2 separate regions of the Homo sapiens genome follow, and region 1 is linked to region 2. The links are contacts of gene promoters, found by promoter capture Hi-C in human tissues and cell types (Jung and others, 2019). All regions are on one chromosome and are shown on one strand. The core of a region is centred on a gene start or on the middle of the fragment in contact, and the rest is flanking DNA. Distances in the headings are between cores, read along the strand shown.

What was found. Contacts are between HindIII fragments. The study calls those that stand out against the background at their distance.
Region 1: a contact is called between a fragment that was not itself captured here and the fragment with the promoter of CORIN in region 2, in 1 of the 25 tissues and cell types used here (IMR-90 fibroblasts).

Annotation. Positions count from the first base shown.
Region 1 is chr4:47,567,778-47,572,489 of GRCh38, forward strand. It overlaps ATP10D (ATPase phospholipid transporting 10D (putative)), which reads left to right. Exons shown (of 23, transcript NM_020453.4): 16 at 1,060-1,369; 17 at 4,377-4,453. Among named protein-coding and RNA genes, the nearest start is that of MIR8053, 83 kb to the right of the region's middle. The HindIII fragment of the contact is 4,014 bases long and covers 1-3,627 here.
Region 2 is chr4:47,834,264-47,839,728 of GRCh38, forward strand. It overlaps CORIN (corin, serine peptidase), which reads right to left and starts at 3,804. Exons shown (of 22, transcript NM_006587.4): 1 at 3,624-3,804. The coding sequence starts at 3,686. All of the region lies in intron 1 of LOC101927179 (a long non-coding RNA gene), which reads left to right. The HindIII fragment of the contact is 9,769 bases long and covers 869-5,465 here.

The sequences.
Region 1 (4,712 bases), core at 371-2,870, 270 kb before region 2:
TTTTTGTGCTGTTTCATGTGCACATGTCCATATCTACTTCTTCCTTGCTTTTCTTATTTTGTTGTAGGTTGAGAAATGCTTGATAAAACAGCATTTAAAATCAAAGCAAACAAGCTTTGAGTGAGAGCTCTTTCACGAATAAACTATTTCAGACTTAGTGTATAAACTAAACTTAAATTCACTGCTCTGGATTTGGAATTTGTTCTTAGTGATCACTTGACACAGTAATTTCTGGATAAGCTTATTGTTCATCTTCTTGAGTAGAATTCATTCAGTGAATGTTTACTGAGTACCTGATGTGATCCTCTTTTAAGCCTCATGAAGACTTCAAAAGTAAATTAAAAGTGATAACTGCCTTTAAAGAACTTCCTAACTAGTGTGGAGTGAGGATGTATGCAAAGGAGACGTGATAAGTACCACAAAGAACATCCTGGCCAGAATGCAAGTGCCATGAGGGCAGGAATTTTCATGTTTATTGGTGTAGCTCCAGCTCTTAGAATGTTTTCTAATATATAGTTTCTCATTAAATAGTTAGTGAGTGAATGAATACGTTGAATCAAAAAGAAGATAAAAGCAATAATTACTATTTCAAATGCCTGCCATGTGTCATGCCTTACACTAGGAGTTTTGCCTGTATTATTTTGCTTAATCCTCACAACAAGATTATGATGGAAATAATATTTGCATATTTTTAATGAGAAAGTTAAGGCTTAGAGAGGTTACATAGTTTGCCCAAGGTCAAGCAGCTAATAATTGGCAGAATGAGACCAGAGGACTCTTGGGATTCACTGTTCAAGAAGGCAAATTGCACACATGAAGAAATTTCACAGCTATTTCTTTATAAGAAATACTGGTGAGATGTTCCCCCTCCTTTTAACCCATCCCCACATACACACAGAACTCTCTGTGGAAGACTCGTAAAATCTTTGAAAATAATCAGTTATTCATTATTTGAGGTTTTCTTGATTCAGCAATTGCTAAAAAATGACAATAAAAAATGTAACTGGTTCTGACACCAAGGGCGCCTGGAGGCTAACCACCTTTGCCTCTTGTTTCAAGGATGCCTGTGGGATGCTGATGAGCACAATTTTGAAAGAACTTCAGAAGAAAACTCAAGCCCTGCCAGAGCAAGTGTCATTAAGTGAAGATTTACTTCAGCCTCCTGTCCCCCGGGACTCAGGGTTACGAGCTGGACTCATTATCACTGGGAAGACCCTGGAGTTTGCCCTGCAAGAAAGTCTGCAAAAGCAGTTCCTGGAACTGACATCTTGGTGTCAAGCTGTGGTCTGCTGCCGAGCCACACCGCTGCAGAAAAGTGAAGTGGTGAAATTGGTCCGCAGCCATCTCCAGGTGATGACCCTTGCTATTGGTGAGTGAGGATGAATCTGAGTCCTGCTCTTCTCCCTTTCACACCACACCAGACACCGATCCTTCTGTCTCTTTCTTCTCCCACTGTTCCTTCCATTTTCCTCCTCCCTTTTTCTCTACCACATTCATGCCTTCCCATCACCTATTTGAGCACCTTCCTCCATCACCTATTTGAGCACCTTCTGTGAACCAGGTAATAGGGATGTGACATGGTAAACAATACAGTAGTCCAGACTTCTTAGTTCAGTGTCAGACCCCCAAATCAACAAGCTTAAATCAAGTAATAAACTGAATCACAGAACTGAAAAATCCATGTGTTCTACCTTCAGGAAAGCTAAATTCAAGGACATGAGAATTCATTTCTTTATCCATTCCACAAGTATTTATCAAGTGCCTTTTTTGTACCAGGCATTTTTCTAAGGAATGGAGATACAAGAGTATATAAAATTGGCAAACTACCTTTTTACAAGGAACTTACATCTAGTAGGAAGGCATGCAGTAAAACAAAGCATAAATCTGTAAGGTATCAGGTAGTGATAAGTACTATTGAAAAAATAAAGTGGAATGAGGACACGTAGAGCACTGGAGATGGGCTGGGGCTGCTCTTTTAAATACGATTTTCAAAGAAGGTCTCACTGCTAAGGTTGACTGTGAGCAGAGATGTGAAGGAAATCATAAAGGGGCCATGGGAGACATGGAGAAGAACATTTCTGGAAGAGAAGACAGTGAAAATGAAAGCCATGAGGGGAACCGTGTTTGGTGTGTCGGAGGACAAAGCCGATTAAGCAAAGGGAGGTGTTTTCTGCGGGTTATTAAAGGCCAGAGAAGCAGCAGAGGGCCAGATCACATAGGGTCTTAGAGGACATTATAAAATTAGGGAGCCATTGAAGGATTTTGAGCTGGAGTGGGACATGATTTGCCTTAAATTTAAAATGATCATGTTGGCTGTTCTGTCAGAGTAATTGTTGGACTGCAAAGACATATGAAATCAGTTGGAATAATTCAGCAAGAGATGATGGCAGCTTGGGCACAGCTGGGAGCAAAGGAAGGGTTGGGACGTGGTCAGATGAAAAATGGGCATGGTCTGAAAAAAGACCCAGAGACATTTGCTGGCATATTGGATATGTTATATGAGAGAAAGAGTTGTCATAGGGAACGCCAAAGTTATGTCTAAGAACAGAAAGAACAGAGCTGCCATTTACTGAGATAGAGGCAGGGGAAATTGGGAATTGGGTCTTACTCATGTGAAGTTTGAAAAGGCCATTAAATATCTAAGCAGTGATGTCAGGTAGGAAGTGAGAATAAAAGTCTGGAATTTAGGAATAAGAAATTGGCTAGAGATATAAATTTGAGAATCAGAAGTCTAGTGGGTATCAGGCCAGGTACAGTGGCTCACGCCTGTAATCCCAGCACTTTGGGAGGCTGAGGTGGGTGGATCACTTGAGGTCAGGAGTTCGAGATCAGCCTGGCCAACATGGTGAAACTCCACCTCTACTACAAACACGAAACTTGGCCAGGCCTGGTGGTGGGATCCTGTAATCCCAGCTGCTAGGGAAGCTGAGGCAAATAGTCACTTGCACCCGGGAAGCGGAGGTTGCAGTGAGCTGAGATTATGCCACTGAATTACAGCCTAGGAGACAGAGCAAGATTCTGTCTCAAAAAAAAAAAAGAGAAATAAAAGAAAAGAAAAAAAGAGTCTAGTGGATATCAAAGCCTTGACACCAAAGAATGAGTATAACTGAAGAGAATTGTAGTATGAGATTAAGATCTCAGAGACTCCAGTGTTAAACTGAGGACTTGGCATATCAGCTCTCTCTTTCTATGTCTGTTTTCCCTCTGGACTGCTTCCAGTCTCAGGTAAATTTTCCCCTCAGGGTGGTGATGTAGCCACTAAAACTCCTGGGTTTCCATCCTATCCTATTAACAACTTGGGTGAAAAGATAGCATCACTTTTCAGATTGCTGCAGTAAAGTTTCAGGATTAAGGTGGAATTTTGTTCAATTATCTTGTTGAATAAACAGATAAATAAATGAATTATTCAAGCTTATGGATCCAGATGTTTCCAAAGCAAAAACTCCTGGATTTATAATTATAGATAACATAATTATAACATAATTATATTATAATTTATTACATTATAATTATATTTATCATATACATTATATATAATACTTATAATTTATATCATGCATTATGTAATATATAACAATTATATTATAACTTATAATAATATTAATTAATTGGAGTCATATGTCCATTTCTGAACCAATTACTGAGGCCAGGGAATAGAAGATGCTGATTGTACAGATCTGGGACACTTGCTTACCTATAAATATGGAGGTTTGGGTTCACCCTAACAAACCACATAAACTAAGAATTTCCAAGGAAAACCAGTATACCTTTACTGAAAAACAGGTGAATTGTTGGTGATCAGTTGTTCATTACCAGCAGGAATGTGGTACCTCCTCCTAAGAAGCTTCCTGTGTTGGGGGAGACCAGTAAGTCTGTATGCAACCATGATACTGTGTGATAGGTGTGCTAGAGATACATAGGGTGGTGCTGAAGCCTTATGAAAGGGCATCTGATCTTTAAAAAAAGTATGAGAAGGATTTCCCAGAGGAAATGACATCTAAGCTGAGAGCAAGAAAAATTGAAATCCAGAAAAATGAGCTGGGGGTGATCAGGACAGTGTTGTTATCATGTGCGTGGCTACAGGGAGAAGGGTGTATCTGGAGAGTTGAAAGTAGCATGAATGACATGAAAAACAAGATCAGTCTGGGTAGGTGCCATAGCGTGAAGGAGTTTAAAGCGGTGTTGAGTTTGGAATTCTTCCTGATGGCAGTGGGATGCCACTTCATTTCTGTTTCACTTACTTCCAGGAAACTTGGAGAACGGGATGAACTTTGAAGGATTTATTTGTTCACTTGAGCTGCCCCTATTGATTTGCAACATTTACACCCTTTCTTTACTCCTCATATGTTTCTCTCCTTTTTTTCTGCCTCATGAAGGTGATGGTGCCAATGATGTTAGCATGATACAAGTGGCAGACATTGGGATAGGGGTCTCAGGTCAAGAAGGCATGCAGGTGAGTGGATATTGTGCACCCAAGTTCTGTGGCCTTGACCTGCCCATCCAAAGGCAGCATTCTCCATGGTAAATTCTCTGTGGCAGAGTGAGGCTGTGTGTGGCTAGCTGAGGAGTGGGAGACAGGAAGTTTACCTATCTATTCATTGATTTTTTTTTACTAGGTGAGTATTATGGCATTTTCCTGGGTAATTTTAGCTGTATTATTCACTTGTTAAAAATAGAGCTTATCTAAAATCACAGGAATATATATTTTAGTC
Region 2 (5,465 bases), core at 2,554-5,053:
ACTCAGCCTTAACAAAGAAACAAATCCTACCATTTCTGACAGCAGAGATGAACCTAGAGGACACTATGCTAAGTGAAATAAGCCAGACACAGAAGGACAAATACTACATGATCCCACTTAATTGAGGAATCTTAAAACAGTCAAACTCATAGAAGCAGAGAGTGGAATGGTGGTTTCCCAGAGGAGGAGGAAATGGGGAGGTATTGGACCAAGGGTATAAAGTTTCAGTAATGCAAGATAAATAAGTCCTAGAAATCTACTACACAGCATGGCTTCTGTAGTTAAGAATACTATATTCTATACTTAAAAATTTGCTAGGTGGGTAGATCTTATGTTAAGTGTCCTTATAACAAAATAATAATAACAATAATAAAGATGGCAGAAGGGAACTTTTGAAGATGATGGATAGGTTTGTGACATTAATTGTGGTGACGGTTTTATAGATGTATACTTGTTTCCAAACCTATCACATTGTTTACATTAAATATATACAGGTTTTTGCTCGCCAATACTTCAATAAAGTAGTTTTTTAAAAAAAGGTTAGGGAACCTTCACCAGAATATACCACTATTACATAAAGTACTTCTAGTACGTATTCCACAGTCTGCAGTGTCCTTACCAGTGGTCAGTAGTACCATCTACATTTTCTGACCAAGGAAACTGAGGCCCAGCAAGATTATTTGACTTGCCCAGAGCCTTGCGGTTCTTAAGGGGCAGAGTCAGAGGTCTGACACCAAAGCTCCTACTCTTCCCACCAAGGCAGGTCATCTACAGCACCTTCTACTCTTAAGGGGTCTGCCATTTCCACCCTCTCTGAACAGACATAAAACAAACAAGTGTATTATGTCTGTGTGTGTCTTTATGTGAGTGTGTAGACTCTGAGGAACAGGTAAGTCTTGGAATCCCTTGAGTGTTTAGTGTGAACCTAGTATGTTTAGCCAGCCAGTATCAGGTCAGTACCCTTTAGCCAGCCAGCCTCATTTTCCATTTGGTCCAGCAAAATGGAATGCCAAGAATAGTGATGGGGCTAACAGGATGCATGAATCCATACTTGTTGAATAACTTATTAGGTAGAAGTAGCAGGTCAAACAAACCTTTCCCCCTCAGATACGCTCAGCAACAATTCAGTGTTGCGGCTCTCCTGCTCCTCAGAGAGCTCTTATTACCCCAGCAGTGGGGACACTCAGAAACCCTAAGACCACAAGTCTTTGTGTTGAAAGAGGCTACAAGTGCGGAAAAGAGGAAAAATAAGGAAAGGAGTACCTCATTAACAGTATGGAGATTTGAAAGTACAGGCTTTTGAAAGTGACTCTCTGAAGCTCCTGGGCCACTCAGCTTCTCCTCTAACTTCCTGTCTGCCCCCAACAGTGGGGGAGGTCAACAGAGGGGCTGGCCAGTCAATAGAACTAGCAACTGCTGAAATCCACATGAAGCTATGGTGGAGAATGTGACCCTTCCAAAAGGAAACCACAGCTGGTTGTGGAATGCAAGATGCGGAAGCACTGATGCCTGCCTTCTATGCTGTTGCTATTGTGATTTCTGCAGCATTATGAGGAAGGTTTCTGATGGAATGAATTTTGCATCTTTTAAGAAAGTGTCTCTGTACCTGGATATGTGCTTGATAAGGTTAATAGAGCAATTCTTGGTGTGTCTTTTTAACCCACAGGAAGGTTAACAGAGGCTTTCATCGTTGGTCCTGTAAGCCTACCCTGAAAGGAACTTTCTGGAAAGAGTCCCCTCCCCCTTAAAAAATGCCTTATAGAATCTTGGGGTTTTGAGGTTGATGTGTTTCCACACCCAAATAACCCCAAAATAGTTCATCCTATTGAAATTCTTGGTGTCCTGGAAAGCATTCTATGGAAAACCTGCCTGGTCAGCCAAGCCCACACGTGAGTCTATGCAGACATCTCCTCTAACCTCGCAAGCCCCAGGAACCTCCTCTAACCTCTCAAGTCCCAGGATCTGAGGACCAATTTTTAGCACAATCTCACACAACAAACCTATTGGGCACCTAATAATAGAAACAAGCTAATGAATGTTTTGACTGTGACAAAAAAAAATGGTTTAATAACTTTTTATAAATGCATTGTTTCTTCTCATTGTCTCAGGGTTATGCCAAAATTAATTTCAAAACTATCTGCTTAAATGTGTCCTTGGACAATAATCACCAGTAAGTCCTGACTTCACCCCCTTTCTGGTAGCGGTCTGACGTTCCTTTGCAGAGTTTCGCTTCCATCGATAAGTTACTTTAAATAAAAAGTTAAAATAAAAACTAGAAGCCACAATTGTGCCTATGTCAGTCATCGAAGTCTTGTACAGGAGTCCGTCTTCGCAGCGCATCGTTCTCAGAAGTTTCCCGCGGGAGGAAAGCTCCACTTTATGAATTACTCGAACAGCTTCCCTGGGAATGCCCAGCCCCGAAGCTTCCCTGCTGAATTCAAAGTCAGAGCTCCCAGGGCTCGGTCCCAGGAACCGGGAGCCGTGCAAAAAGCGCGTACACTGCCATCCACTGGCCCCGAGCAGGTAGTAGCAGGAGTGAGGCGCCTGCCACGGGAGCTCAGGAACTGGGTCCCAGTAAGATCCGACAAGACACCACCTCCCTTCCGCCCGCACAGCCTGCCCTCTCTGCCTGCAGCTAGCGTCACCGGTCGGTCCCCGATTCGGAGCAGCTGGGACCCTCGCGGTAGCAAGCGGATTCCGGGGCCCTAATGACACCGAAGGAGAGGGGCAGCCGCAAATTAGACCTTCTTCCTGGGGGCTCAGGCCAGTAGGGACTGTCCGTGGTGCCCTTCCCTTTCTTTCTCCTCCTGAACGAGAGCCAACGCTGCCCCTTCCCAGGACTGGATCTGAGCCAACCAAATCCTACAGCGCAGAGCCTGCGCCCCCGGCGGCCAGCCCTCCTGTGCCTAGGCAGGTTCACGCCGGAGAAAGTTTGCACGCAGGGACCTACAAGTTCCCAGCACTCTGCAAGAGGGCCAGTTCTGGGATGCCAGCACTTAGGACGGGCGAGTGATCCCCAGGCACCAACTGGGGGCCGGGGAACCAAGCGCGAGCCCGGGCTGTGGAGGGACCGACACCCAGGCGCTCGCAGCTGGGGAAGGGGGCTTACGTCTGGGGCAGGCAAGACTGCTGCACAGTCCCTCCAGCCACCCGGCGCCCGAGACGCCGGCGCAGACAGGAAGCTGTAGATCCCCGAGGGGCTGGCTCCGACAGCTCCACCTGCAGCCTCCCCTGCCGCCAGTGTGCAGCCAAGTCCACTAGATGCTTGGAGGGCACCGTGCGGAGGAGGGACTCTGCAGGAAAGGTGGCATCACCCCCGGCATGGAGACCGGGGTCTCCGGATCGAGCCGACTCGAACACTGAAGGAAACCCTGCCCATGACCCTGGGAGGGTCTCGGACGCCGGGCGACCGGGGTGGTGGTCGGGACCAGGGCCGTGCGCCTGGGAACTGGGTGCAGGGCGCTGAGCGCGGAACTGTCAGAGCGGGAGCTCACCGGCGGCTGGGGAAGGAGGTGGCATCGGGCGGAGGAGAGGACGGGGGCGGGAGGGGCTGACCCTGAATTCACCGGGACTAAGAGGCCATCACACCTGGCTGCGGTAGGACAGCGAATCATCGATCTTACCGGCTTTGGGGACCCGGCTCTGCGGCAGCGCTCTTCCGGAGCGAGGGCAGGAGACTGTTTCATGGATAAAAAGTCTCGCTTATTCTTCTGTCCACTTTTATCTTGGTCGCTTTTCTCTCCTCTACGTGTCCCCCGGGGAGGCACTACGGATGATTTTCTCCAAGCTCAAGAGAGACAAACTGAACTTTAAGCGCCAGGGGCCCCATATTTTGTCTGCTCTACAGATCCCACCCGCGGGCCACACCCTCCCTTCACTCCCGTCTCTGGGTCCCACCCATAATAACCCGTAATGACAGATCCTCCGTGTCCCCACCTCTTTGCATTCAAAGAAGTTATTCTTCAGGGGCATATGGAAAGTCAGTTTCTGCTGGTCTCCCTCAAAAACTTACACTCCACGAGGGCAGCAGAAAAGGACAGGACGATTAAGTTTAAGTTGTGGAAGACTGGTTGGGAGCAAAAGAGTTACTTTTCTCCAAATTTGCCATATCACATCGAAAGCATTTTCTTTTAACCAGAGTGTAGCCAATCAAAATTAACTGCAGGCGCTGGCAATTAAAGAACAAGTTTATCTCAAAAAAGGTTTAACGTTTGGAGGCCATTATTTGCATCAGGCATATGGAAACTTGCGTTCTGTTAGGTATGCTGAAGAAACTGCTTTTGCCAGACTGCCTGAGTCTTTGCTGAGGCTGCAGGGACAAGGGAGAACCCCACCCTGACTGCTTCCAAAACCCTAGTTCCTGATTTCCTGCAGAGGGCACCTACAGGCTGAACCTAAAAGGCGAACAAATTCCTGCCTGTCATTCAAAAGCAGCTACCTTTTCTAAGGCAGCGTCAAGGAGGGCACTGGAGGTACTCAACACAGTAATGATTACTTTACCAAGTCCAAGGCAATTGTCAAATGTGGCAAAGAAAAACACTTCATTGGGTTTTTCTTAGAAATGATTTTTCATCCAATTTCAATCAAGATCTTAATGGAAATTTTGAAAATTACTCATGAGGTTATTTAATAAATCCATCCCCATTATTTAAAGAAAGCCATGTAAAGACAACAAAATATGGGCCAAGCACTTGTTCTTGAACATTATTGCTGAGAAAAAAATATGCATTTGTAAAATGGGGGGGGCAGTATTTTGTTTCTGAAGTGAGATCAAATGTAGAAAATATTGCATATGTATAGTAAAATGACTGAAACACTGATTCCATGTTATTCTAACATCCGATTTGTAAACCAGTATCTGACAAATTTATCATAATTCACAATAATTCAGTTCATATTATGTGGCAGGTGTCATACTAAGCACTTTACATGTATTCTTTCAGTTCCACCAACTACTCTGAGGAAGAAGCTATTATTTTTATTTTAGAGATAAGAAAGCAGATTCAGGGAGCTGAAGTGAAGTAACCAGCCTACGCAAGCTAGCAAGAAGCTGAGCTGGGATTCCCCCGAGGCAGTGACTTCTGGATTGTGTTCTTACTAAGATACTACCTCATCACACACCATCACCGCAGTGCCAGTCTGGGAATCAAGAACTGTGAGCAAATCACATAGTCTTTCTGGGCCACAGTTAACTCAGCCTATAACATAAGGGCTGGATTCAATTGCTAAGGTTTCTACAGGCATTCTGAGGCCAAGTACAAGTTTCTATTTCATCTTCTTTCTCTTCCACTTTCTGCCCTCTGGTGGAGGTGCTACAGGGACTATGAAATTAAAGTAGCTACGTCAGTGGATTTGAGATAGGGTCGATCAGTCTCCCTCACTTTTCCACTTTTAGTTCCTCTGAGAACTAAAGCTAATTGCATTAATGGTGTAAAATAAACATTTTTTAAACTTCCTTTTAGCAA